Linked DNA regions of Homo sapiens: all the other regions are linked to region 6. The links are contacts of gene promoters, found by promoter capture Hi-C in blood cells and fetal thymus (Javierre and others, 2016). All regions are on one chromosome and are shown on one strand. Each heading gives the region's core, a stretch centred on a gene start or on the middle of the fragment in contact. The rest is flanking DNA. Distances are from core to core; before and after follow the strand shown. Region 1 overlaps YWHAE (tyrosine 3-monooxygenase/tryptophan 5-monooxygenase activation protein epsilon). Region 2 holds the start of BHLHA9 (basic helix-loop-helix family member a9). Region 3 holds the start of PRPF8 (pre-mRNA processing factor 8). Region 4 has its middle 18 kb from the start of BHLHA9. Region 5 has its middle 38 kb from the start of TRARG1. Region 6 holds the start of MYO1C (myosin IC). Region 7 overlaps TRARG1 (trafficking regulator of GLUT4 (SLC2A4) 1 (gene/pseudogene)).

Evidence for each region. The method cuts DNA at HindIII sites, captures the fragments that hold promoters and counts their contacts. A CHiCAGO score of 5 or more calls a contact.
Region 1: a fragment that was not itself captured here is called in contact with the fragment with the promoter of MYO1C in region 6 in 14 of 17 cell types (activated CD4 T cells, endothelial precursors, total B cells and 11 more); the score reaches 10.5 in activated CD4 T cells.
Region 2: a fragment that was not itself captured here is called in contact with the fragment with the promoter of MYO1C in region 6 in 1 of 17 cell types (endothelial precursors); the score reaches 5.6 in endothelial precursors.
Region 3: a contact is called between the fragment with the promoter of PRPF8 here and the fragment with the promoter of MYO1C in region 6, in 1 of 17 cell types (neutrophils). The highest score is 7.3, in neutrophils.
Region 4: a fragment that was not itself captured here is called in contact with the fragment with the promoter of MYO1C in region 6 in 1 of 17 cell types (endothelial precursors); the score reaches 6.9 in endothelial precursors.
Region 5: a contact is called between a fragment that was not itself captured here and the fragment with the promoter of MYO1C in region 6, in 5 of 17 cell types (endothelial precursors, naive B cells, M1 macrophages and 2 more). The highest score is 8.6, in endothelial precursors.
Region 7: a fragment that was not itself captured here is called in contact with the fragment with the promoter of MYO1C in region 6 in 1 of 17 cell types (activated CD4 T cells); the score reaches 5.1 in activated CD4 T cells.

The regions. Positions count from the first base shown.
Region 1 is chr17:1,341,498-1,345,374 of GRCh38, reverse strand. It overlaps YWHAE (tyrosine 3-monooxygenase/tryptophan 5-monooxygenase activation protein epsilon), which reads left to right. Exons shown (of 6, transcript NM_006761.5): 6 at 1-1,100. Among named protein-coding and RNA genes, the nearest start is that of YWHAE, 57 kb to the left of the region's middle. The HindIII fragment of the contact is 491 bases long and covers 1,321-1,811 here.
Region 2 is chr17:1,266,722-1,270,770 of GRCh38, reverse strand. BHLHA9 (basic helix-loop-helix family member a9) reads right to left here and starts at 327. Exons shown (of 1, transcript NM_001164405.2): 1 at 1-327. The coding sequence starts at 207. RefSeq lists enhancers at 1,530-2,332, 2,333-3,136 and a silencer at 2,242-2,471. The HindIII fragment of the contact is 2,719 bases long and covers 478-3,196 here.
Region 3 is chr17:1,683,415-1,687,471 of GRCh38, reverse strand. PRPF8 (pre-mRNA processing factor 8) reads left to right here and starts at 2,605. Exons shown (of 43, transcript NM_006445.4): 1 at 2,605-2,692; 2 at 2,890-3,000; 3 at 3,771-3,939. The coding sequence starts at 2,901. The HindIII fragment of the contact is 11,873 bases long and covers 1-4,057 here.
Region 4 is chr17:1,250,112-1,253,833 of GRCh38, reverse strand. No RefSeq gene overlaps it. Among named protein-coding and RNA genes, the nearest start is that of BHLHA9, 18 kb to the left of the region's middle. The HindIII fragment of the contact is 4,133 bases long and covers 1-3,324 here.
Region 5 is chr17:1,315,433-1,319,223 of GRCh38, reverse strand. No RefSeq gene overlaps it. Among named protein-coding and RNA genes, the nearest start is that of TRARG1, 38 kb to the right of the region's middle. The HindIII fragment of the contact is 189 bases long and covers 2,170-2,358 here.
Region 6 is chr17:1,490,293-1,494,101 of GRCh38, reverse strand. MYO1C (myosin IC) reads left to right here and starts at 1,416. Exons shown (of 32, transcript NM_001080779.2): 1 at 1,416-1,689. The coding sequence starts at 1,615. It overlaps LOC105371483 (a long non-coding RNA gene), which reads right to left and starts at 1,315. Exons shown (of 2, transcript XR_934145.4): 1 at 477-1,315; 2 at 1-152. RefSeq lists silencers at 2,161-2,560, 2,641-3,080 and an enhancer at 2,365-3,084. The HindIII fragment of the contact is 5,990 bases long and covers 1-1,688 here.
Region 7 is chr17:1,295,899-1,299,593 of GRCh38, reverse strand. It overlaps TRARG1 (trafficking regulator of GLUT4 (SLC2A4) 1 (gene/pseudogene)), which reads right to left. Exons shown (of 3, transcript NM_172367.3): 3 at 1-1,343. The coding sequence ends at 1,330. Among named protein-coding and RNA genes, the nearest start is that of TRARG1, 18 kb to the right of the region's middle. RefSeq lists an enhancer at 192-786. The HindIII fragment of the contact is 2,052 bases long and covers 434-2,485 here.

The DNA.
Region 1 (3,877 bases), core at 317-2,816, 150 kb after region 6:
TGTCACTGAGAACCACCAAATCTGACTTTTACATTTGGTCTCAGAATTTAGGTTCCTGCCCTGTTGGTTTTTTTTTTTTTTTTTTAAACAGTTTTCAAAAGTTCTTAAAGGCAAGAGTGAATTTCTGTGGATTTTACTGGTCCCAGCTTTTAGGTTCTTTAAGACACTAACAGGACTACATAGAGGCTTTTTCAGCATTACTGTGTCGTCTCCGTGCCAGATGTGGCAAGATCACCATTAGCAAATGGAAATTACATTTGAAAGCCATTAGACTTATAGGTGATGCAAGCATCTAAGAGAGAGGTTAATCACACTATAGAGGCATAAGTGGTATCAGTTTTCATTTTTCTAATTGTTTAAACTGTGTTTTATACCAGTGTTTGCAAGTAATTGGGTGTTAGCTTGAGATGGTTAAAGGTGGTTTGGGGAGGGACTTCGTTGTAATGGTTTTGCTGTAAAAAATGTTTCCAACTCCGCTGAAATGTTGCTGAAAAGCATGGTGCTGGTAACAGTTCAACAATCCGTGGCTGCTCATTCTTGCCTACTTTACTCTCCCACTGAAGCAGGTTAGCGTTGAAGGTGGTATGGAAAAGCCTGCATGCCTGTTCAATTCTTTTGTTTCTTCTCCTTCCCCCTCCCCCTACCTCCTTCCCCTCACTCCTCCCCTCCTTCGCTCGCTCAACCTCTTTTGTTCAGTATGTGTAACTTGAAGCTAATTTGTACTACTGGATATCTGACTGGAGCCACAGATACAGAATCTGTATTGTTCTTACTGAAACACAGCATGGAATTAACATTAAACTTAAATAAAACAAACCTAAATTAAAAATGCCAAATATCGCGCCTCCATCCTTTATACTTCTAAAATAAAATCTCTAGTCCAAACACACTGACAGTATTATGTTTGCCTGAATGTGAAACATTCCTCCTTTTTTCTTCCATAAATAATTTGTTTGCTTCCCAAAGATGTATGTTTTGGAAAAAAATTGCCTGTAGTCTGGTTGTGAAGAACACTGAGTCAGTTGATGGTGTGTCTTGTCCTCCAGACCAGGCAGCAACATGGTATTTATTTTAATCATTAAAGTACAACATGAGTAGTACAAGGTGTAATTATGGATCATTTTCTAGCATAGTATTTCATACAACCAAATAAGGCTGAATGTCTTATAATAATTCTTAGAGGTAAAAACTGTGTGCCCTCTTCCTCCAGAGGCTAGTGGCAGTAGTGGAGAATTACTCAATCCTTTCTTAGTAATCCATACACACATTATAGACAGCAGGATAGCAGTCTCCCTTTCCAGAAACACTGTATAAGAAGCTTCTTTCCATAAACAGTTTATACATCAATGTGTATAGATACCTAGTTACTGTAGATCTTTTTATGTTAGGCATTCAGATGTGTCTCATTCTGACTGCGTAACATTGATGTACACCTGATTTTGTTAAGACCAGTTTGCTCCTTTTGGGCAGGTGCTGCAGGAAATACCCTTGGAACAGTTTTTGCTTAAATATTTGTATGTATCTGGAAGGTACATTTCTAGATTCCCTGTGTCAGTAAACATTTTTCAGTTGATAAATCCTTCCTCGTCACACTTGTCTTCTAAAATTGGATGTTGAGACTGCAAGTTTACTCTCGGTTTAAAGTGTTAGTAGCAGAGATTTAGGAAATGAACAGATCAGCGATATCCTAGTAGCGTTTAGTGAGTGCTGGCAATGAGAATAAACATGTTTTTGTGAGTTGCTTTTCCGAGAGATAGGGAGACCATTGAATATAATTATATGCTGCTGTTTGGAGCAACCTCCAAGAAGCTTTCAAGTTGATTTGCTCTGTTTCCAGCACACCTGCTACACTTAAAGGTCAAAATCCAAGGAATTCGTCAAGTCTGTTGCAGAGTTTAAAGAAACCACTCGGCTGGGTGCGGTGGCTCACACCTGTAATCCCTGCAATTTGAGAGGCCGAGGCGGGCGGATCACGAGGTCAGGAGATTGAGACCATCCTGGCTAACACGGTGAAACTCCGTCTCTACTAAAAGTACAAAAAATTAGCCAGGCATGGTGGCGCACGCCTGTACTCCCAGCTACTCGGGAGGCTGAGGCAGGAGAATCGCTTGAACCCGGGAGGCAGAGGTTGCAGTGAGCCGAGATCACGCTACTGCACTCCAGCCTGGGCGACAGAGTGAGACTGTCTCAAAAAAAAAAAAAAGGAAAGATCCTTATCAAAAATTGAAAGGCCGGGTGCGGTGGCTCACGCCTGTAATCCCAGCACTTTCGGAGGCCGTGGTGGGTGGATCACGAGGTCAGCAGTTAAGAGACCAGCCTGGACAACATGGGGAAACCCTGTCTCTACTAAAAATACAAAAAAATTAGCCAGGCGTGGTGGCGGGCGACCTTGCTGGGTGTAATTAACATCCAGTGACTTGGGAGGCCTGAGGCAGGACAATCGCTGGAAACTGGAAGGCGGAGCTTGCAGTGAGCCAAGATCGCGCCACTGCACTCTAATCTGGGCAATAAGAGCAGAACTCCGTCTCAAAAAAAAAAAAAAAAAAAAAAAATTGAAAGGGAGCCAGGGAAGCTGCAGAAAGGTGCCGTAGCCCTGTGAGGACGGTGTCACTCCCAGTTCCTGTATTTGTGGGCTGGAAAGGGAATTGCCCCCAAACTTTTCTGGTTTTGATTTGAGTCTTACTTTGAGGATCAGTCGACTTAAGTAGAAGTTTTTAGTTAGTTACAACTTGAATGTAGCTAATATGTGTTTTTAATTACAAATCTCAGTACTTTGCTGCCTTGGAAAACCCAAAGGCTTCCTACAATGTTAGAAGCGACAGTAAGTGGGTTTGTGTACATGCTCTGTTCCGGGTGGGTCCTCAGAACAGCACGTCTGCAAAGTTAAATTTCGGTCCTATAGGAAGATGGGGATGAACTTCCATCACTGAAAGGGGAAACTGGTGGGATAAATGGAGACATTAATTGGCTTCTGTCCCAGACAAATGCCTTGAGCCTTATAAATGAGACCCCAAATTAGCTGCTTCCTGATCCTAGGACAATAGAGGAGAGTGAGGCTTGCTGAAAAAGCGGGATAAAGGTGTGACCCCTGTGTTCTTTTGAAAATTGTAACAAGTAATAGTTCATGGAAAACTGGTGAAATCCTAGAGTGTGTCATTAAAGGAAGCCTTTGTGAGCACTGTGAGAGGAAATGGGAATGCTCCCAGATCCAACCTGGATCAGGAAAACCAAGCCCTGTGTTGTTTTATCCTGTTTCTTTGAGTTCGTAGGATTGTAATAGATACTGTTAATATTTAGCTAACATTGGCCGGGCGCGGTGGCTCACGCCTGTAATCCCAGCACTTTGGGAGGCCGACGTGGGCGGATCACGAGGTCAGGAGATCGAGACCATCCTGGCTGACACGGTGAAATCCCGTCTCTACTAAAAAATACAAAAAATTAGCCGGGTGTGGTGGCGGGCGCCTGTAGTCCCAGCTACTCGGGAGGCTGAGGCCGGAGAATGGCGTGAACCCGGGAGGCGGAGCTTGCAGTGAGCCGAGATCGCAGCACTGCACTCCAGCCTGAGCGACAGAGCGAGATTCTTGTCTCAAAAAAAAAATAATAATAGTTTTGCTAACATTGCGTACCAGCTTTGCACCAGGCACTGTGCTCGTTACTAAGCAATGTCTGGAATCTCACACGTAAGCGCTCAATAATAATCAGGTGAGCCTGCATTGTGCAGATGGGAAAAGCTGAATGGGAAGTAGTTAAGGAACTTGCTGAAAGCTGCATGGCTAATAATTCAAATACAGAATTCAGTTCATCTGTGTCACTGAAGAGTCTCATTAGGCCATACTACCTTTTGCTCTTCATTAAAACTATTTTCTTGAAATACTAT
Region 2 (4,049 bases), core at 588-3,087, 220 kb after region 6:
GGCCATGCGCCGCGCCTTGGACCGCACCGGCCGCGCGCGCCTCCTGCCCGCCGGCTCCTCCGCCTCGCCCCGGCTGCAGGAAGCGCCGTTCGCCCCCAGCACCCCCGAATCGCCCCCGGGCTCGGGGCAGGGGCCCCCCAAGTCCTCCGCAGAGTCCTCGGCCCCCTTCCGCGCCGTGAGGCCTAGTCCTGGCGCGCCCCGCAGCATGGCCTTCCCGGGCACTCGCCCTCTGCCCCAGCCCCGGCCCTCTGCCCTCTGCCCTCTGCCCACTGCCTTGGCCCGGCTCGCGACGCGGACGGTCCCCGGCTCCTGGGGCTGGACACTCCCGAGACAGGCCCCTTCCAGCTGGGCTTTATGGCACCACGCGGCGCCCCGCCCTCCCGTCCATCCATCTCCCTCCTCCTGCTTTATTATCGGCCTCCAGGTAGGTCGGCGGGGGAGGAACCGAGGGGAAGAAGGAAAGCAAGGAGGGAAGCTTGCAGGTTCTTGTAAGCGGGGACCAGACGGGCAGCCCGGCCACGCTGCCCCGGGGACCTTGCCCTGCCTAGCTCTGGGGCCGCTGTGGGGTGTCTGGGTTCCACATTCTTCCTCCCCATTCCCAGATAAGGTGCTAAGTTTGGCTTCTAGCAGGAGAGCTGATAGGAATAAAAAGAGGCAGAGGGCCGGGCACTGGGGCTCACGCCTGTCATCCCAGCAGTTTGGGAGGCCGAGGCGGGCGGATCACTTGAGTTCAGGAGTTCGAGACCAGCCTGGCCAACAGAGTATATAAAACCCCGTCTACTAAAAACACAAAAATTAGCCGGGCGTGGTGGCAGGCGCCTGTAATCCCAGTTACTCGGGAGGCTGAGGCAGGAGAATGGCTTGAGCCCAGGAGCTGGAGGTTGCAGTGAGCCGAGATCGCACCACTGCACTCTAGCCTGGGAGACAGAACGAGACTCCGTCTCAGAAAAACAACAACAAAAACAACAACAAAACCTTGAAAGTTCTTGTCAAGTCCCGTGGGCAACCACAGAGATGTCACTGAGGAAAAGCATGAGTGTCCCGGCAGGACTCATATGGGAGGCGCAGGGCCCTGCAGGTAAAGCTGACCCAGAGCTTCCGGCTTTTTCAGCTATGGAGGGCGGCTGGCTGCAATTGGGGTTCGGGTTTTGGTTGGGCCTGACTCTCCCTCCACTGCCCTTTGACTCCCCTTCTGCAGGCAGAGCTGGGATGAGTCAGCAGCAGAGGGTGACGGGGAAGATCCCTTTGCAGCCCTGGGTCCACATCAGGGGCATCTTTGGGGTCCAGAGCCCTCGGGCAGCCCCATCTTGTGACACAGCCCTGCCAGGTTATGAACTCAATGAGCAGCCTCTGTCCTCTTCCCCCAGGGATTTGCATTTGAAAGAGGGTCTCAGAAAAAAGATGATGTTTATTCCCAAAGAAAGACCCCCAGTAGAATTTCCGGCATCCACAGCTGAGTTATTTGGAGCGCCTGAAGGCCACTCATTCCCAGTCACAATCCAAATGCCTCTAAGATGCCAAGGCCTATGGCATTGGAATGGGTGTGTGGTTCACATCCATCTCGCCAAAAGAGCATTGCCAATAACCCCATTATTTCAAACTGTGAATTTCTCCATAAAAGAAAATAATAAGGCATTAGGAAGCAGAGTGTATGTATTTACTTCTGTGATTGTCTGCCTTGCCCACTAGGATGAAAGCATCCTAAGGACATCTGTATTTCCCAGGTTCTATGTCCCCCAAATCTGCAATATATGTCGAATTATAAAACAGCTAGAGGCCGGGCGCAGTGGCTCACGCCTGTAATCCCAGTACTTTGGGAGGCCGAGGTGGGCGGATCACTTGAGGTCAGGAGTTCAAGACCAGCCTGGCCAACACGGTGAAACCCCGTCTCTACTAAAATACAACAATTAGCTGGACGTGGTGGCGGGGAGCCTGTAGTCCCAGCTACTCGGGAGGCTGAGGCAGAGAATCGCTTGAACCAGGGAGGCGGAGGTTGCAGTGAGCCGAGATCCCGCCACTGCGCTCCAGCCTGGCGGACAGAGCGAGACTCCGTCTCAAAAACAACAAAAAATAAACCAGAAAAAAAAAAAAGGTCAGTAAAAGCAAAGAAAATGCCCACGCAGCGCGCGTTTCCCGGTGGCGTTTCCCGGCCGCTCCCGCCCTTCCCCGCGCACGTCAGGAAACGGCCCCACGCGAAGAACCCCGAGGACCCGGGAGAGGCGCCCCCTCCTGGAACCCGGGACTCCCGGGCGCTGCGGGGCGCGGCCGACTTCAAAGCGAGCGGCGGGCCCGGCATTTCCGCGGCACCTGCCCGTGCCCGGGAGCGCGAGTTCTCGGCCCGGGCGGGGGCGGGCGGGGGCGGGCGGGGCGCCGTGATTTAGGGTCTGGCGGTTCCGCCGGCGGCCGCGTAGGTGCCTATTAGCGCCGGGCGGGGCCTGGGCTTCAAAAGTTCCGGCTCTTCCTCCGGAAGTTCCGGCGCCGCTCCCCGAGGGAGGACGGAACGCCCGCCCGGGAGAGAAAGTCCGGGAGCCGCTCACGGGGGCCTCGACCCCACCCCCTCCGGAGAGCGGGTCCCGGGAAGCCCTGAGCCTCCTTCTCTCCCAGGCGAGACCCTGGCGTTTCAACCCACACGCCCGGTGTGGAAGACGTAGGGGCGCAATTGCAGCCTCTGCCCCTTCATGCGCTCATTCAACAAAAACTTTTTTTTTTTTGAGACCGAGTCTCGCTCTGTCGCCCAGGCTGGACCGCAGTGTCGCAATCTTGGCTCACTGCAAGCTCCACCTCTCGGGTTCAAGCGATTCTCCTGCCTCAGCCTCCCGAGTACGTGGGATTACAGGCACCCACCATCGTGCCCAGCTATTTTTTGTATTTTTACCAGAGACGGGGTTTCACCATGTTGGCCAGGATGGTCTCGAACTCCCGGCCTTAAGTGATCCGCCCGCCTCGGCCACCCAAAGTGCTGGGATTACAGACGTGAGCCACCGCTCCCGGCCCTGAACTGGATTTCAAAGGATGAATAGCAGTTTGCCAAGCAGACAGGAGGTAGAGGGAACAGCAGGTGCCAGGCCCTGGAAGTGTAAGCGGTCACAGGATGATGCGAAAAATACAGGAAAGTGACTTTGCCAAACCACCAAATGTGAGGCCAGGGAGTGACGGGAGATAAGGCTGGAGATCACCAGGCGTCGTCCCAAAAGCTTGCTTTTCGCCCTGTAGGCAGCTGGGTACTGCAAAAGGTTATTAAGCAGAGGAATGTCAGCCGTATTTGAATTACAGCTAGAGCTCTTTGAGCAGTGTGGAGAATGGATGTTAAGACAAATTCCACTTAGGAAGCAAGGATCCTGGAGGAAGGGGGGGCCTGAGCTATGCAGGCAGTGGTGAGAGAAGGGCACGGAGTCAACACCTGTTTGGAAAATAGAATTGACATGTGGGGGTGCCAATGGGATAAAGCAGATGACAAAAAGGGGTGTCGTCTCCATATTCTCCTTTAAGAGCAGAAGCCTTAGTTCAGAGACTCTCTCTACAAAGGTCCAGCCATGGACATGGGGACAAGAAAGCCAGTGGCATATGGTCACCTCAGACCCAGGGCACCCACGACTTCGGTTATTTTTTTTTTTTTTTTGAGGTGGAGTCTCGTTCTGTCTCCCAGGCTGGAGTGCAGTGGCGAAATCTCGGCTCACTGCAACCTCCACCTCCCGGGTTTAAGCGATTCTCCTGCCTCAGCCTCCTGAGTAGCTGGGACTACAGGCGTGTGCCGTGGTGGATGTTTTTGTTATCACTGTTTGCTATGTGGCATTTGAACAGCCTTCCTATCTGGGGAGAAGGGAGCCTCCATGGTGGGGCTCTGGGTGGCAGAGATTTCTGGTAACTGGGACAGATGCGAGTCCAGGCACTTGGCTGCCTGACTTGAATCTGGAGTGGTGTCCCAAAGAAACAAACAGGTAACAGTGGAGAAATCACGGTGCCAGTGCGGGGCCTGTGGCCCTCCACGTCCTACACTGGCATCTAGAGGAGGTTCCTGGCTTGGCCGTGGGTCTAGCTGCCCAGTTTCC
Region 3 (4,057 bases), core at 1,356-3,855, 190 kb before region 6:
CTGACCTCGTGATCCACCCTCCTCAGCCTCCCAAAGTGCTGGGATTACAGGCGTGAACCACCGCGCCCGGCCACCCCCCAGAACTTCTTATACAACCATAGAGCGACAATCAAACCAGGAAATTGACATTGGTACAATACTCTTTTTTTCTTTTTTGAGACGGAGTCTTGCTCTTTTGCCCAGGCTGGAGTGCAGTGACTATCTCAGCTCACTACAACCTCTACCTCCTGGGTTCAAGCGATTCTCCTTCCTTAGCCTCTCAAGTAGCTCGAAGCACAGGTGCGTGCCACCATGCCCGGCTAATTTTTTTGTATTTTTAGTAGAGACAGGGTTTCACCGTGTTAGCCAGGATGGTCTCGATCTCCTGACCTTGTGATCCGCCAGCCTCGGCCTCCCAAAGTGCTGGGATTACAGGCGTGAACCACCGCGCCCGGCCACAATACTCTTAATGAAACTACAGACCATAGTAGGATTTCACCAGGGCTTAGAGCAATGTCTGGCACGTAGTGAACCTTACACAGGTGAAAGGACTTCACTACCATGACGATGATGATGATGAAGATGATAATGATGATGTTGGACTTTCTAGCACAGCCAGATTGATATGGTGCCTATTTTCAGAGCATGCCATGTTAGTTTCTATATCTAAACCTTTTTTGGCCTGGCACGGTGGCTCACGCCTGAAATCCCAGCAATTTGCGAGGCTGAGGTAGGCAGATTACTTGAGCTCAGTAGTTCGAGACCAGCCTGACAAACATGGAGAAACGCCATCTCTACGAAAAATACAAAATTAGCCGGGTGTGGTGGCACATGCCTGTAACCCCAGCTACTCAGGAGGCTGAGGCAGGAGAATCGCTTGAATCCTGGAGGCAGAGGTTGCAGTGAGCCGAGATTGTGACACTGCACTCCAGCCTGGCAACAGAGTGAGACTCTGCCTCAAAAAACAAAAAACAAACCAAAACCCCCACTTTTTTTCTATGAAACCAGCCTCGCTCTGTCACCCAGGCTGGAGTGCAGTGGTGCCATCATGATCCTCCCACCTCAGCCTCCCGAGTAGCTGGGACTACAGGCATGTACCACTATGCCTGGTTAATATTTTTATTATTTGTAGAGATGAGGGTCTCAGTATGTTGCCCAGGCTAGTCTTAAACTCATGAGTTTAACCAATCCTCTCGCCGCTGCCTCCCAACGTGCTAGGATTACAGGTATGAGTCACGGTGCCCGGCTTCTTTCTTAACTCTTTCTAGTAGTTCTACCACTTGGGATTACCTTTTTCCTTCCTCTCCATTTACCTTTATGAAATCCTCACATCCATCCATCTCCATCAAATCTTTAACAATTCTCCTCTGTCTTTTTTGACTGTAGGGACCTTTAGAACACCCAGCATTAAAAAATAGATTTCAGGCCGGGCATGGGGGCTCACGCCTGTAATCCCAGCACTTTGGGAGGGCCGAGGCAGGAGGATTTCGTAAGGTCAGGAGTTTGAGACCAGCCTGGCCAACATAGTGAAACCCTGTCTCTACTAAAAATCCAAAACTTAGCCGGCAGTAGTGGCGCGTGCCTGTAATCCAGCTACTCTGGAGACTGAGGCAGGAGAATTGCTTGATCCTGGGAGGTGGAGGTTGTGATGAATTGAGATCGCGCCATTGCACTCCAGTCTGGGCAACAGAGTGAGACCCTGTCTCAAAAAAACAAAAGGAATATTTTTTAAATTTTTACCGTTCTGAAAGCACATTGACATCCTTTGAATTTTTTTCTAATTATTTCACTTTGATTTGTAAATTCTCAACTAGATTCAGGGGCTGTATGGGTTACAATTCCTCTGCACCCTCCACAGAATTTCAGACTTTTTTTTTTCCCCCGAGACAGAGTCTCGCTCTGTCACCCAGGCTGGAGTGCAGTGGCGCGATCTTGGCTCACTGCAACCTCCCCCTCCCGGGTCAAGCGATTCTCCTGCCTCAGCCTCCCGAGTAGCTGGGACTACAGGCGCCCGCCACCACGCCCGGCTAATGTTTGTATTTTTAGTAGAGACGGGGTTTCACCATGTTGGCCAGGCTGGCCTCGAACTTCTGGCTTTAAGTGATCCGCCTGCCTCGGCCTCCCAAAGTGCTGCGATTCCAGGCGTGAGCCACCGCGCCCGGCCAAGGTCTTAATTCTTGCCTGCCTTTCTGCTCCCCTGTGAACTCTACTGGTTGTCTTTTTTCCTGCTTTATCCCTCGTCCTCGGTAGACAGTGATGGTTAAATGAATGAATGCATGAACAAATGACTGTCCAGGAGCTAGTACTGCATTGCATGTACACATTGATGACAACAGACATCGTACAATGCGCAATCTTGGCAAATTTATTCAAACCCTTTAGACTTCGCTCTCTCACAGTGCGACGCCGGGAGCCCATCACACGCTGAGGTCTGTCAGAGGCCCCAGAAACAGCCTCGGAAATGGAGGAGGCGGGGCTTCACCCCGACCACACCCCCTTGCGTTCAAAGCCTTTCCGCCTATGGGCCCGCCTCCTCGGCGCAGTGTGCAACTCTAATTGGTCGTCTCACTAATCCATCTGAGCACCTCGGCGCCGACTGGATCAACTGCTGAACTCGGGTTGCGCACTTCCCGGCGCTGGGAACGCGGAGCGGACGCAGTCTGGCCGCCATTGCGCTGCGGGGAAAGCGGCCTCTTGTGTGAGGGCCTGTGGGGTGCGTGGCAGGCGTTTAAGGCCGGGCTGCGGGAGGCGTGGTCGGGTCGGGCCGAGTGACCGAAGGGGTTAGGCCGGGCGGGGCTGGATGCACTGTGTGGCGGGACTGCAGGCCGGGGTCCCCGGACGCCTTTCTGCTGCGCTTCTTGTGGGCCCGGGCCTGTGGTTAGTGAATTTTTCTATCCCGCCGCTCCCCAGATTCTCCGGATATGGCCGGAGTGTTTCCTTATCGAGGGCCGGGTAACCCGGTGCCTGGCCCTCTAGCCCCGCTACCGGACTACATGTCGGAGGAGAAGCTGCAGGAGAAAGGTGAGGCGAGAGTGTGGAGCGGCGCGCGGGCCGGAGGCGGGGCGGGTGTGCGCGCGCGCAGGCGGGTGGGGACCCTCCCCGTTTGGGCAGCTCCTGAGGTGTCAGCTCCCTTGTTATTTCCAGTTAATTTTTCATCAAGTCATTTTAAGCGCGTATTATTTGCAAGCGCTGATCCAGCGGGGGTACAGTAGTGACGGAGACAAAATTCCTGTCCTTACGGGGTTTAAATTACAGCGGGAGAGACAGAGAATAACAAAACCTTGAAGCTCTGTAATAAAAATGTCAGGCCGGGCGCGGTGGCTCACGGTTGTAATCCCAGCACTTTGGGAGGCCCAGGCGGGCGGATCACCTGAGGTCAGGAGTTCGAGACCAGCCTGGCCAACACAGTGAAACCTCGTCTCTACGAAAAATACAAAAATGAGTCGTGTGTGGTGGCGCGTGTCTATAATCCCAGCTACTGGGGAGGCTGAGGCAGGAGAATGGCTTGAACCCAGGAGGCGGAGGTTGCAGTGAGCCGACATCGCACCATTGCACTCCAGCCTGGGAGACAGAGTGAAACAACCTCTCAAAAAAAAAAAAAAAAGTCAGATAGTGATCAATGTGATGAAAGGAAAAACAGAGTAAAATGGTAAGGGAATTGGCAAGGGGTGCTTCTTCCTGCTGGTGCCTGCTTCTCCCTCACACTCACTGACAGGAGCTTACCCTAGGGCAAGAGGTGAAGAGGATTAGGGGGAGGGTGTGCAGGCCTTTAAACTGAGGTGCCTTTCCAGCTCGAAAATGGCAGCAATTGCAGGCCAAGCGCTATGCAGAAAAGCGGAAGTTTGGGTTTGTGGATGCCCAGAAGGAAGACATGCCCCCAGAACATGTCAGGAAGATCATTCGAGACCATGGAGACATGACCAACAGGAAGTTCCGCCATGACAAAAGGGTTTACTTGGGGTAAGGAACATCCTGAAATAATTTCATTTGGAATTTGGCCCTTTTCCCTTCTCCCTGTCCCACAGTCTTGGATTGATGCTTTGACAGCTCATCTTGGTGGATATAAGAGAAAGGAGAA
Region 4 (3,722 bases), core at 9-2,508, 240 kb after region 6:
AGCTGGGGCTGCGGGGAAGGTTCCAGAACAGCGGGCTATGTTTAACCTGGCACAGGTGCCCAATTCCCAGCTCAGGGAAGGGGCGTGGTAGGTGGGAAACAATCTTGCTTTCATTGTTTTTTATCATTGCATTATTTTTTACATTAAAAAAATTTTTTTTGAGACAGAGTCTTGCTCTGTCGCCAGGCTAGAGTGCAATGGCACGATCTCGGCTCACTGCAACCTCCGCCTCCCGGGTTCAAGCGATTCTCGGCCGGGCGCGCTGGCTCAAGCCTGTAATCCCAGCACTTTGGGAGGCCGAGGCGGGCGGATCACGAGGTCAGGGGTTCGAGACCAGTCTGACCAACACGCTGAAACCCCGTCTCTACTAAAAATTCAAAAAATTAGCCAGGCTTGGTGGGGGGCGCCTGTAGTCCCAGCTACTCGGGAGGCTGAGGCAGGAGAATCGCTTGAACCTGGGAGGCGGAGGTTGCAGTGAGCCGAGATTGCACCATTGCACTCCAGCCTGGGCGACAGAGTGAGATTCCATCTCAAAAAAAAAAAAAAAAAAAAAAAAATAGCCATTCTCCTGCCTCAGCCTCCCGAGTATCTGGGATTACAGGCGCCCTCCAACATGCCAGCCTAATTTTTGTATTTTTAGTAGAGACGGCATTTCACCATGTTGGCCAGGCTGGTCTCAAACTCCCAACCTCAGGTGATCCTTCTATCTCAGCCTCCCAAAGTGCTGGGATTACAGGCGTGAGCCACTGCACCCAGCCCATCGTTTATTATTTTATTAAACATTTAGGATGCTGGATTCAGTGGGCATCTTCACCTGGTTTCATTACTAGTTTTCCTTTTCACAAATCCTTCCGGCTTGTTATTAAGAAATAACTTTAGGGGCCGGGCGCGGTGGCTCACGCCTGTAATCCCAGCACTTTGGGAGGCCAAAGTGGGCAGATCACGAGGTCAGGAGATTGAGACCATCCTGGCTAACACGGTGAAATCCCGTCTCTACTAAAAATACAAAAAATTAGCCAGGGGTGGTGACGGGCCCCTGTAGTTCCAGCTACTCGGGAGGCTGAGGCAGGAGAATGGCTTGAACCCGGGAGGCGGAGCTTGCAGTGAGCGGAGATTGCACCACTGCACTCCAGCCTGGGCGACAGAGCGAGACTCCATCTCAAAAAAAAGAAAAAAAAGAAATAACTCTCTCCCCCAGGGGCCAAAGAGGGCCGGGGAGAAAATGAAATTGACCAAGTGTCAATGAACGAGGGCAGGGGAGGGATAAATGCTCCATCCTGCTCCTTCAGCAGTGGGCGTGGGTCCAAAACGACTGTTAGACTCATAAATTGCTCACTTATCCTCCCTGTTTGCTCCAAATGGCTGGAAAAGCTATTTCTGCTAATCACAGGCGTAGGCCCGTTGCTGGAAGGGGGCCAGCCTGGGCCCAGCAGGAGTGTGAATTGCACCCGGATTCATTATCTGTATCTAGTCCCACATTTTAGTGGTAGGTTTTTGTTTGATTTCAAAGTGAGATGGTTAGGTCATTATTTGTTAAATTATAGCTTTTAATTAGCAGATCTATTGAAATGAAAAGCCTGGAAGAGACACACACACACACACACGCCGCTAAGTTTTTGTTTGGAATTTATAATTATTACTGTTAGGAAAACATTAGTTGGGGGCGTTAAAGTCATTTTTTTTTTTAAAGAAAATCTTCAAATTATGCGCTGTTGGGGGAAGGGGGGAGGGAGACACCAGTGAGCTAGAGACCTCCCGTAATGCCAACAGTATTATTACCCAGCCCCGGGTCCTTGTCTTTTTAGAAAGAAAGGGAACAGATGGGTTTATAGTAATTCATATTCTTTCTCCTCACGGCGGGAATCAGAGATTAAATCAGTGGGTAACCAAGACTGGCTGCCATGGAGTTCTGCTCCGTTCCTAATTCCCCTGGAAGGTAGGGAGGATGGTTGAGGGGCGGTGGGGTTGGAGCAGGGCAGTGTGGTGGGGAGTGGGTCAGCCTTGGTAGATTTGCCTCTGGGGGTTTAGTTTCTGCCTTTTGGAGGAACAAGGAGAGGCTAATATTCTCTCTCTCTCTTTTTTTTTTTTGAGTCTTGCTCTGTCGCCCAGGCTGGAGTGCAACAGCGAGATCTCAGCTCACTGCAACCTCCGCCTCCCGGGTTCAAGTGATTCTCGTGCCTCAGCCTCCCGAGTAGCTGGGACTACAGCGTGCACCCACTCCCGGCTAATTTTTGTATTTCTAGTAGAGATGGGGTTTCAACATGTTGGCCAGGCTGGTCTCGAACTCTTGACCTCGTGATCCACCTGTCTCGGCCTCCCAAAGTGCTGGGATTACAGGCGTGAGCCATGGTGCCTGGCCGGCAGTGATCTTGATCCCCACCCTCTTCCCCAGGGTTGGGGTGCGGGGGTGAGTTCCAATTCAGATGTCTTCCATCTTCTCTTATTTTGAAGCCCCTTCCTTTGAAAACAGGACACTTTGCAAAGGTCACTTGTAACCAGAGGCTTTCTGGTTGTGTGTTAAGGGTTTTTCTGAGTGAGCTTTCCCAGAAGGGGAGATGAGAAAATAGCCTATTAATAAATAGCACGTTGTTCTAAAAGAGTTAGGGGCTTCTGGCCAGGCGTGGTGACTCACACCTGTAATCCCAGCACTTTGGGAGGCCGAGACAGCTGGATCACGAGGTCAGGAGATCGAGACCATCCTGGCTAACACAGTGAAACTCTGTGTCTACTAAATATACAAAAAATTAGCCCGGCGTGGTGGCGGACGCCTGTAGTCCCAGCTACTCGGGAGGCGGAGGCAGGAGAATGGGGTGAACCTGGAAGGCGGAGCTTGCAGTGAGCCGAGATGGCGCCACTGCACCCAGCCTGGGAGACAGAGCGAGACCCTGTCTTAAAAAAAAAAAAAAAAAAAGAGTTAGAGGCTTCTGTTGTTATTGGGGAATTGTTTGTTTGTTTTGATTTTGCAAAACCTGAGTGTGGATCTGATGCTCCGCCTCCCCATCTTGCCTTCATCCTTATGCTTAACAATCCCATTTACTCCACTCTAGGAGTAATCAAAGATGTACAACCCTCTGCCTGTGGGGGAGAACAGCACAGATAAGAAGCGCAGAATCGGGAATTGTTTTCTGATGAGCAAATGTCAAATTTTATCGATGAGCTTTGGGGATGAGAGAAAGGGTTATCATGATAGCCTGAAGCAACTTAGATTCATTGCTCTGGATCTCTGATGGCAGAATACATGTTTGGGAAGTGATTCCACACGCAAATTTTGGTCTCTGAAAAAGGCTAGAGCAAGAAATAAATACAAGAAAAGGCATTAAAGCTTTTTACTCCAGTAACAACAAAAACCAAAAATTTAATTTTTGTAATTTCATGTTATTGAAAATCTACTCCAACTACATGTTTTGTTATTTTTTAAGCACATAATTGCTGCAGCGGCAGCTGTGTGCACTGGAGGGAATGGAATTCCGTCTGTCGTTCACGTGACTTTTCTTCCCCTCCACAGCCCCCAGCAAGGGTCCCCATGATCTTCCCTCCACAGCACCCAGCAAGGGTCCCCATGATCTTCCCTCCACAGCCCCCAGCAAGGGTCCCCATGATCTTCCCTCCACAGCCCCCAGCAAGGGTCCCCATGATCTTCCCTCCACAGCCCCCAGCAAGGGTCCCCATGATCTTCCCTCCACAGCCCCCAGCAAGGGTCCCCATGATCTTCCCTCCACAGC
Region 5 (3,791 bases), core at 1,015-3,514, 180 kb after region 6:
ATAATCCCAGCACTTTGGGAGGCCAAAGCAGGCGGATCACTAGAGGTCAGGAGTTCAAGACCAGCCTGGCCAACATGGTGAGACCCCGTCTCTACTAAAGGTACAAAAATCAGCCAGGCGTCGTGGCGGACGGCTGTAATGCCAACTACTCGGGAGGCTGAGGCAGGGGAATCACTTGAATCTGGGGAGGAGGAGGTTGCAGTGAGCTGAGATTGCACCACTGCACTCCAGCCTGGGCGACAGAGTGGGACTCCATCTCAATAAATAAATAAATAAATAAATAAATAAATAAATAAATAAATAAGTGCTGGTGAGGATGCTGAGGCACTAGAACCCCTGTGCACCGTCGGTTGGAATGCACAATAGTGCAGTCACTATGGAAAACAGTAAGGCAAGTCCTCAAAAAGTTAAAAATAGAATTACCATGTGATCCAGCAGTTCCGCTTCTGGGTATATGCCCAGAAGAATTGAAAGCGGGATCTCAAAAAGATCTTTGCAAGCCCATGTTCACAGCAGTATTATATTTACAATAGCCAAAAGGTGGGCTGGGCGAGGCGGCTCATGCCTATAATCCCAGCACTTTGGGAGGCCGAGGCGGGCCAATCAGCTGAGGTCGGGAGTTCGAGACCAGCCTGACCAACCTGGCGAAACCCCGTCTATACTAAAAATACAAGAAATTAGCGGGGCGTGGTGGCTCATGCCTGTAATCCCAGCTACTTGGGAGGCTGAGGCAGGAGAATCACTTGACTCTGGGAGGTGGGGGTTGCAGTGAGCCTAGATCGACCCGTGGCACTCCAGCCTGGCCAAGAAAAGCGAAACTCCATTTCAATAAATAAATACATAAATAAAATAGGTTGTCATGGGTCAAATGAAATGTATGTGAAAGTAAGTGGCACATAGTAGATGTTCAATAAATGTGAGCTGAGGCCAGGCGCAGTGGCTCATGCCTGTAATCCCAGCACTTTGGGAGGCCAAGGGAGGTGGATCACCTGAGGTCAAGAGGAGTTCGAGACCAGCTTGTACAATATGGTGAAACCCTGTCTCTACTAAAAATACAAAAATTAGCTGGGTGTGGTGGTGGGCACCTGTAATCCCAGCTACTTGGGAGGCTGAGACAGGAGAATCGCTTGAACCCGGGAGGCGGAGGTTGCAGTGAGCAGTGATCGCGCCACTGCACTGCAGCCTGGGCAACAGAGTGAGAATCTGTCTCAAAAAAAAAAAAAAAAAAAAAAGAGAAAGAGCTGAATGTGAGCAAAATGGAGCTTCTGAGAGTAGAACAGCGTAGCTCGTGGTTTTCCCCCAGAAAATTAGCACTGAGGATAAGATTGACATTTTTGGTGAAAATAAAAATACAGTACTTACTGTGGATTTAATTCATCTGTGCCTAGCCTGTCTGAACTTTATTTTTTATTCTTTTAATGTTTTTATGTATTTTTTGAGACAGGGTCTTGCTCTGTCACCCAGGCTGGAGTGCAGTGGCGCAATCACGGCTCACTGCAGCCTCCAACTCCTGGACTCAAATGAATCTCCCTCCTCAGACTCCTAAGTAGCTGGGACTACGGTATGCACCACTATGCTTGGCTCATATTTTTTTGCATTTTTTTGTAGAGAAGGGATCTCCCTGGGTTCCCCAGGCTGGTCTCAAACTCTGAGGCTCAAGTGATCCTCCTGCCTCGGCCTCCCAAAGTTCTGGGATTACAGGTGTGAGCCACTGTGCCTGGCCCAGTTTATCTGAAGTGATGGAGAGATTGGTGAACTATTACTACATTTTTCTTTTTTCTTTCTTTCTTTCTTTTTTTTTTAATGGAGTTTCACTCTTTTTGCCCAGGCTGGAGTGCAGTGGGGCGATCTCGGCTCATTGCAACCTCCGCCTCCCGGGTTCCAGCGATTTTCCTGCCTCAGCCTCCTGAGTAACTGGAATTACAGGTGCCCACCACCATGCCTGGCTAATTTTATATTTTTAGTAGAGACAGGGTTTCACTATGTTGGCCAGGGTGGTCTCGAACTCCTGACCTCATGATCCACCCTTTTTGGCCTCCCAAAGTGTTGGGATTACAGGCATGAGCCACCAAGCCCGGCTTCCTATGTGTTTTCATAGGGTCTTTAAACTCCTGACTTTGAACTCCCAGGAGACCTGTGACTCACCTAATTAATCAGCTAGCCAAAGCTTTTTGTTAGATTCAATCTTGTGAAATCCATTTTCTTATCAGCACAAACTAGGGCTTTTGATAAAACAATATCCAAATGAAAAGGACTTTTAGGCCTCCCAAGATGTGCTTCACAGCCTCTTTTTAATTGAAAGCCTTTTACAAATGTAACCCATATTTCTGATTTGATCTTTTTCTAAAAGATGAAGCTTTTATTATTATATCTGGTTCCCATTCTAATTCCACTCTTACCAGCTGCAAGCTCCTGAGCAGGTTCTCGCTTCTGCACAAACCAACCCCAGGGGCCGGGCGCGGCGGCTCACGCCTGTAATCCCAGCACTTTGGGAGGCCGAGGAGGGTGGATCACTTGAGGCCAGGAGTTCGAGACCAGCCTGGCCAACATGGTGAAACCCCATCTCTACTAAAAATATAAACATTAGCCGGGCCCAGTGGTGAGTGCCTGTAATTCCAGCTACTTGGGAGGCTAAGGCAGGAGAATCACTTGAACCCGGGAGGTGGAGGTTGCAGTGAGCCAGGATCGCGCCACTGCGCTCCAGCCTGGGTGACAGAGCCAGACTCCGTCTCAAAAAAAAAAAAAAAACCCACTTAGAGAAATTGTTGTTTTCTTCTTCAGGCTTTTCGCATTTTCCAAGTTTGCTGCAATGACGTTGTATTAATTTTGCAATTGGAATGAAATTAAGAAAGGAAAAAACCCACTCCACACCCCTGGGCAAAGTCACCCAGGAGGGAGAAGGTTCACAGCCAGGCAGTGGGAATGTGGAGGCTGTGGGCTGGTGAGAGGTTTTCCCTGCCATTTCCCCCCCTTTCTGTCCTGTCGCTATTATGTTGCTCTTATAATTAAACCCGCTGTGCAGGGAGCCGCTGATCTTGGTCGCCTGGGGTGTGTGTTTACCTCCTGCCTGTTTAAGCAGCCCATGAGTGGCTCCCACGGGCCATGATGAAAACATGAGTTCCTCCAGCTCGGTTCCCCTGGGAGGGCAGCCGGGCCCTGCCTGGAACCTCGTGTTCCCCTCTCCAGGGAGCGTCTGTAGACCCTGGAATGTCTGCACGGGCTAACAACCAGAGGGAGCCAAGCCTGGGACCTCTGTACCCTGAGACCTCAGTGCCCTGGGACTTCCCAAAGACCCAACAGGTGGATGAGTTCTGGGAAGACTGTGGGGTCTGGTTTTAAGGGTGAGAGCAAATCACACTGGCCCGTTCTTAGATCCGGGTTCAATCCCATTACCTGGATTTTCCAGCATCCGTGGTGCCTGTTCACTGGATATCCTGTACAGCCACGGGCCCCCTGAGTGGCTTAGGAGGTCGGAAAGGGCCTCTGACCTCAGCAGGGAACCAGGAGGTAGACGCATCCATTTTCCCCACTGGCCAGGCTGGAGCTGGCAGCCCTGCCTCCAACTGGGGCAATGGGAGGGCAGGCTGATAGCAAAGGAGACGCTGGAGGCAAGAGCCCGACCAAAGCATCCAGCTCCAGGGCGAGGGCCAAGAGCAAGAACCAGATCCAAAGCAAAGGTCAGGAAGACGGGAGCCTGGGGAGGGCAGCGGGGGAGAGGCTTTTCTGGAGAGCTCTGTCCTGGAGGGAGAGGAAGCTTTTTTTTTTTGAGATGGAGTCTCACTCTGTCACCA
Region 6 (3,809 bases), core at 167-2,666:
GGTTACTGCATGGCACCCTTCATTGGGCAGATGGGAAAGCCAAGGCTCAGAGAAGTGGTACAGTCTCTTCAAAGTTCCAGGCACCTGTGGTTTCCCACAGGACCAGAAACAGGAATGGGGTCTGAACCCACCCGCAGAGCGGTCTCAGTAGTCTGTAAAATACAGATGATGTCCCTATTCTCAAGATTACTGTGGGAGAACAATTGCAGAAAGTGTATCGCACTAGACCCGCCTCCCCGTTCTGATTAATGCGGCCCCGGGGCTTGACCCCAGGGGTCCCCCCACATGCTCACCTCCCCCGTGGTGAACTGAGGTCGCCACACACCCAGCCTCCTGTGTGGGAGGGGTGAGCCCAGCAGTGATTGAGAGGCGGAAAGGGGAATGGGGGGTGCTCTCCGTCCTCTGGGCCCCAGTCAGGATATGGCCGTTCTGGGTCCACCCCGACCCACTGGGTGGAAACAGGAAATAAGTGAGACCTGGTGTGCACTGGGTCTACGCCTGGCTCCACGGCTGATAAGGGCCATTGTGTGGCCGCCGGGGATGAGCCTGCTCTGGATAGATGTGCTTCCCGGAGGAAGGAAGGAAGGCTTGCTAGCTTTTCCGGGGCGGGGGAAGCTGTGGGGAGAGAGAAGGGTGCCGGGGGGAAGGCCCCTGCCTATGGGGCTGTCGGTGCCAGCACACACCCACGGGACTCAGCCCTTCCTATGCCAGCCTCTCCCTCTGGAAAGGTCTGTTTCCCCTATCCACTTCCCTGTTCTTACTTCCTATAAGGAATGGCTGGAGACTGGAGGGCTCAGTCTCAGGCCAGGAAAGTGTCAGCTGTGATTTAGCAACAATAAAAATAGAAAAGCAGGAACATCAGGGGTGGGGGTCACCTGGGGGTACTGTTGAAACGCAAGGGATGAACAGGGCTAGAGGTTGCCCACACCCAGGGAACCCAGGAACTAACCTCACAAGCTCTGAGGCTCAGAGGAGGGTAAGCCAAGAGCTTCCTCACAGCGGGACAGCCCCCTGTCCGGGCCCTGCATGACCAGGCCCCAGCAGCCCTGGTCTCTCAAACTCATGGTGGGGGCTCACCTGCTGTGGGGGGCAGCCCCGTTGAGGGGATGTGCAGGAAAGCCAGTGCCTACTAACGGGTCCTCTTGGCCTAGGGGAGGGCATGCCGTCTGGTTTGGGGAGTGGGCCCCGTGCTCTCTAGGTGGTACCAGAGAGTGGGCAGGAGGAGGGGCCCAGCCATAGAGCTGCCGTGGGGATGGGGGGAAGGGGAAAGGCGTCCTAGCCTTTGACCTGGAGCCCAGGGTCCCCCATGGGTGGCTGCATCGGCTCCTCTGGTTACCTGGGACAACAGGCATTTCCTCCATCCCCAGCCCCTCCTCTTCCTGCTCCAACCATCCGGGCCAAGAGGCCTCCCAGTCAGACCTGGACGGCTCCAGCCGTGTCCTGAGGAGCTGGACCAGCCACATCCCCTGGGGCTGCAGTTGAAGCAGAACCAAGTGGCCATCCCGGCGTTAGACCGTAGGTTCCTGGTCCCGGAGTGGTCGGAGCCCGCCAGTGGGCAGGCAGCTCTTGCTCACAGGCCGCGGTGCCCAGGCCGCTGGCTCTCCGCAGGGCGGAATGGCGCTGCAAGTGGAGCTGGTACCCACCGGGGAGATCATCCGCGTGGTTCATCCCCACAGGCCCTGCAAGCTTGTAAGCTGGGATGCTCTGGGCTGGGAGGAGGGTGGGAGCGTCTCCCCAAGGCCGGGCAGCCCCTCTCAGGCGAGCCCTCGGGCAAGAGCTGAGCAGCGGGGAGGGGTTCCGATCCTTGGCGGGGCCAGAACAGACTGAACAAGACGGGGTGAGTGGAAGAGTAAGGATGCAAGGGCCACTAGCAGCAGGATTTTTGGAAGTGGAGGTCTGGGCTTGACTCTTCCCCGGCTTCCCGAACCTCAGTGGGCAGAACCGTGAATACTGGGCACAAAAGGCAAGTGCCGGCTGCTGTGAGGTCGAAGGACCAGGGCATGGAAGCTCCAGGCTCAGTCAACGCCCCGCTCCTCTCCAGTCCGCAGGGCTGGGACCGCCCAAGACTCAGAACAGAAGGACGGTGTGGGAGGTGGGTGAAGGGTCACGGGTGGGTAGAAACGGGGGAGCGCGGCCCTGGCCCGGCCCGCAGGAAGGGGCTGGAGATGCAAAGGGCCCGGAGGAGGGAGAAAGTCGGGCGCCCCCACGCCCCCAGCAGCGCGGCGGGGAGCCGGGTCTTCGGCCGGAGGGGCGCGCGCGTGTTCGCTGTGGCCCCGGGAACGGGCCGAGGCGGGGGCCGCACGCACCGAGGCTTCGCGGACGCGGCCGGGGCTGAGGCGGGGCGGGGCGGGGCCGGAGGGTGCGCGGCCCTGCCCGGGATGACGACAGGCTGCGGCCCGGCCCCCGGCGGGCCCTGGGCGGGGAGAGTGCGCCCGGGCCGCGGATCCCCAAGCCCGCCACGCCGCCCAGCCCGGCCCCGCCCGCGCCGGAAGAGCCACGCCGGTGGGTACTCGGGGCGCGGGGACGGCGGCCGCGGGGGGCGGGTGTGGGGAGCGGGCGGCCGGGCCGGGAGCCGCCGTGCACGAGGCAGGGGTCACGGCCGGGGATCGCTGGGGCCGAAGAACGGCCGCGTGGACCCGTGCGGGGGGGGGGGGTCCCACGACCCGGAGGCGCCGGCGCAGCCTGGTGGAGACTTAGATTTACCTGCGGGGAGCGGGAGGCGGGGAAGAGCGGCCTGGGCTGCAGGACCCAGGACCCTGCGCGCCCTTCGGGCCCCGCCCGCAGCCCTGCTCCGCCTCTGGGTTCCGGAGAAGCCGCCTAAACCCGCCCCTTCCCGTTCTCCGCCCCTGGGGCCCAGCGCGCCCCGAGTGTGACGGGCGGGGGGCTCCGGGGTGGCCGGAGAAGGAGGATGGCCACGCGGCCCTCAGTCCTCACGCTCCGGCCTCCCGCGCACACGCCTGGCTCTGAGATTCATTCATTCATCCAGGGGTCCGGGAAGGGGTGACTGAGCCCCACCGTGTGCCTCGCTGCGTGTAGGGAGTGGGAGCCGTCTCCTGGGAGGGACTGACAAGGAAACAGCTGATTCCTGCGGGGTGCGATAAGGAGGCGCTGCGTGTTTGGGAGAATCAGGAAGGGGTTCTGGAGGAGGTGACACCTGAGCCGAGTCTCAGTGAGGTGGGCAGGGAGAGTGCCCCGGGCTGGGGAAGCCGCAGGTGCAGGCACTGAAGCTTGGACTGGCTGGCGACGGTGCGAAGGCCCCCTCCTGGGGGGAGGGGTGGGGGGAGAGGGGACTGGAGCGGGCCATCTGGCACATCGGAATGCAGGAGCAGTGGGGTAAACTGGGGACAGCAGGGGGGTCTCGGGAGTTCATAGGCAGGGTCCTGGTAAGCAGCAGTGAGTGTGAATCATGGGCCTGGCATATGGAGGGTGTCCTAAACCTTCACTCTATGAACATGAGGTGTTGATTTGATTTGTGTTGCCCCAGAGGAAATGGATTGGTAGGAGGAAGGCAAGGAGGCCAGTTAGGCTGCTGTCTTGGCCCAGGTAAGGAGCAGTGATGGAGGTGAGGTTTTTGTTTGTTTTTGTTGTTGTTTTGTTTTGTTTTGAGATGGAGTCTCGCTCTGTTGCCCAGGATGGAATGCAGTGGTGCGACCTCTGCTCACTGCAACCTCCACCTGCCGGGTTCAAGCTATTCTCCTGCCTCAGCCTCCTGAGTAGCTGGGATTACAGGTGTGTGCCACCGCGCCCAGCTAATTTTTTTTTTTTTTTAGTAGAGACGGGGTTTCACCGTGTTAGCCAGGATGGTCTCA
Region 7 (3,695 bases), core at 210-2,709, 190 kb after region 6:
GGAAAATCATGGGCCTGGAACGAAGGAAGAGGCCGAGGGCCCCACTTGGCTCCTTTCGGGGGTCCCATTAGGTCCTAAGATGAGAGGCCGTGGCGTCCAGGCCCCAGGCTCTGTACATGCAAGTGTATTCCCAAACCTGGTCCCCCGACTCTCCTGCAGACGGGGTCCTTCAGCTGAGCCCTTCCCTCGGTCTCAGGACGGTCAAACAACAGACCCCCATAAAAACTCTCTGACCCACGCCCTTGCAGGTGGCGCAAACGCCCCTGACAGCCTGGGACCCTTTGGGAAGTCCCCCCAGGGGTGGTCCCAAAGCCTCCTCCAGGGAAGGCCTCTGCTGTTTGTGGATGGCCAGGGGCCCAGGGCCAAGCACAGAGCATAGGGCTGGGCTGGAAGCCTGAAACTACCTAAGCAGCACCAGACGGAGCCCCAAGCTTGCACCCCAGGCCATCGCGGGGGCCACGGCAGGACGAGAGCTCAGACCTCGGCCCTCCCCGCTGGCTGACCTTGGCCAGGTCTGGTCCCAGGCTACAGCAGAAGTAGGAGGAAGAGGCAGACTGGCTTGTCCTGGGAGACATCCTGGGACCAGAGTCCTCGAGAGATGCTTCCGAAGCTGACAGGTGTGGGAAGAGGCGTGCGGGTCCTGCCATCCTGGTACCTGTCTTCACAGACACGCCTCTCGGCGCCACCACCTTGCAGCGGAGGATGTTAAGTGAGGCAGTTGCCTCCTTCCCGGGAGCTGCACCCCCCACAGGTGCCTGCCGGGGGAGGTCCCAGGCCTGTGCTGAGCACAGCTCCGCCTCTGCGCTCGGGGCCCTGGCTGGGATCACCGCGGGCGTGTGGCACGAAGCATGCAAACAGTCCATTCTTTCCCCGCTTGAGGAAAACACAAAAGATGGGGCCCCACGTCTTTGCTCCGAGTCCACAGACAGGAAGGAGCTCTGCTGCGTCTCTCCCCGCCAGCGTGTGTCTCGTTTGTGGGGCTGGGTTTTTTCCTCATTCATCCTGGCAGTTTTCGCTGCTTGGTGGAACCCAGGAAATTGTGGGAATGAGAAACAAGCCAGACTGCTGGGGTTGAGATCCCAGGACGCGTCCGGGAGAGTAAACCACGTTACCCATTGGGTTCGCTGTGCTTTCCTTCCTCGCTCCAGGCTTTCTTGTCAGATGGGGGCTGACAGTGGGTGACTGGGGGGTTTCCCTTTGAGTCTGTGCTTTTGGAACTTGGGGACAGGGGATGCTTGACAGTCAGCACCCTGGCCTCCCGCGGTGTGCAGGTCAGAGCTCTCCCGATGGCCAGGGCCGGCCTCTGCTAGCCCAGCTCCCTGCTTAAGTTTATTTCTTCTGAACTGTAAAGAAAAAAAACAGATATGGCAGAACAGGGCTCAGAACACTGGCTCTTCAAGTCCCTGACTGGAGGATTTGGGTTTCTGGTTCCCAGTGGGAAGTGGTAATAGGGATAAGGGGAGAAGGCTAAGGCTTGGGAACCTCTTTGGTTTGGAGCTCTTGGAGTAACTGAACTCCTGCCAGTAAGAGGACTGTGGCCTCAGTGACTGGCTCAGGTGGCACTGGGTCAGAGGTGGGCATGCAACCCTAGCTGAGCCAATCTGAATCAGTCCTGAGACTTTTGCTATCTAACTGTTGAGACTTCTTTCCCTGCTTAGTTACTGGACTGATTAAAATGTGCACCACTCTGGTCGGCTGCGGCAGCTCACGCCTGTCATCCCAGCACTTTGGGAGGCAGAGGCGGGCAGATCACCTGAGGTCAGGAGTTCGAGGCCAGCCTGACCAACGTGGTGAAACCCTATCGCTACTACAAATAACAAAAATTAACCGGGCGTGGTGGCACGTGCCTGTATTCCCAGCTACTCAGGAGGCTGAGGCAGGAGATTCGCTTGAACCTGGGAGACAGAGGTTGCAGTGAGCCGAGATTGTGCCATTGCACTCTAGCCTGGGCGACAGAGCAAGACTCTGTCTGGGGAAAAAAAAAAAAAAAAAAAAAAAAAAGTCCTGGCTAAAATAACAAGCAGCAGCAGGATGGAGACCAAGGCGTCATTTGGTGAGACGGAGGCTAATGTCCTGGGCTGGTGGGCTCCTGCCTTGCATGTACCTGCATGTCAATCAGACTCACTCATGGAGGAAACTGTCACACACGCTCCAATTCACACAGTGAGAAAGTGTGGGACCTGGATTCTGAAGCTGGGCACGCTGATTCCAAACCCGAACGCTTCCCTCTCCTAAGTGGCCAAGGTTGCTGGCGGCCCCACAGCTGAACCCCAGGCTTTCGGTCCCAAGCTCAAGTTGGGCACCCCACACTCTAGACCAGTGCCTCCCAACGTTGACGGTTGGGCTGGGAGTCTTATTAAAGTCCAGATTCCAATCCGGTTCAGGGATGGAGCCTGGAGTTCTGCGTTTCTGACACATTCCTCGATAATCCCGTCACAGGTCCAGGGAGCACAGTTTGAGCAGCGAGGTCTTTAGGGGAAAAGCTTAGGGTTCATTGAAATGGGCAGAGATCCTTGGGGACTTCCTGATGTACGTGTATGAAAGGAAGAAAATCGGCAGTTCAGACCCGGATGACCCCCCAAAGTCACCTCACCAAGCTGCATGGGTTTCTTGAACAGCAGAGAGTCACCTTTGAAAATGGTTCCCCTGGGCCAGGCGCGGTGGCTCATGCCTGTCATCCCAGCACTTTAGGAGGCCGAGGCTGGTGGATCACCTGAGGTCGGGAGTTCGAGACCAGCCTGGCCAACGTGATGCAACCCCATCTCTACTAAAAATACAAACTTAGCCGGGCGTGGTGGCAGGCGCCTGTAATCCCAGCACTTTGGGAGGCTGAGGCGGGAGGATCACCTGAAGTCAGGAGTTTGAGACCAGCCTGACTGATATGATGAAACCCCATCTCTACTAAAAATACAAAATCAGCTGGGTGCGGTGGTGGGCACCTGTAAGCCCAGCTACTCGAGAGGCTGAGACAGGAGAATCACTTGAACCTGGGAGGTGGAGGTTGCAGTGAGCTGAGATCATGCCACTGCAGTCCAGCCTGGGCAACAGAATGAGACTCCATCTCAAAAAAAAAAAAAGAAAGAGAAAATGGTTCCCCTGGGCTGGGCGTGGCGGCTCACACCTGTCATCCCAGCATTTTAGGCGGCCAAGGTGGGTGGATAACCTGAGGTCAGGAGTTCGAGACCAACCTGGCCAACATGATGAAACCGTCTCTACTAAAAATACAAAAATTAGTCGGGCGTGGTGGCTGGTGCCTGTAATCCCAGCTACTCAGGAGGCTGAGGCAGGAGAATCACTTGAACCCGGAAGGCGGAGGTTGCAGTGAGCCGAGATCGCACCACTGCACTCCAGCCTGGGCAACAAGAGTGAAACTCCATCTCAAAAATAAAGTTAATTAATACAAAATAATAAAAAATGTTTCCCCTGGTTGGATGACTTCACCGGGCCACCTATGGGTGCCCACAGAAGGGTCACCTACTTTTTGAATTCTACCATATGCACTGCTTGCTTCTGGGGTTCCCCGGCTGACTGCAGGGATTTTAGTGTTTACAAAGCACAGTCACGTCCTTTATCTCGGGTGATGCTCACAAAAGCCTCTGCTGGAGGCTCTTTCCTGCCACTTGATACCAGGAAACACTGAGGCTCAGCTAGTCAGGAACCGACCCTGGTCCCAGGCCCATCAGAGCTGAAGCTGG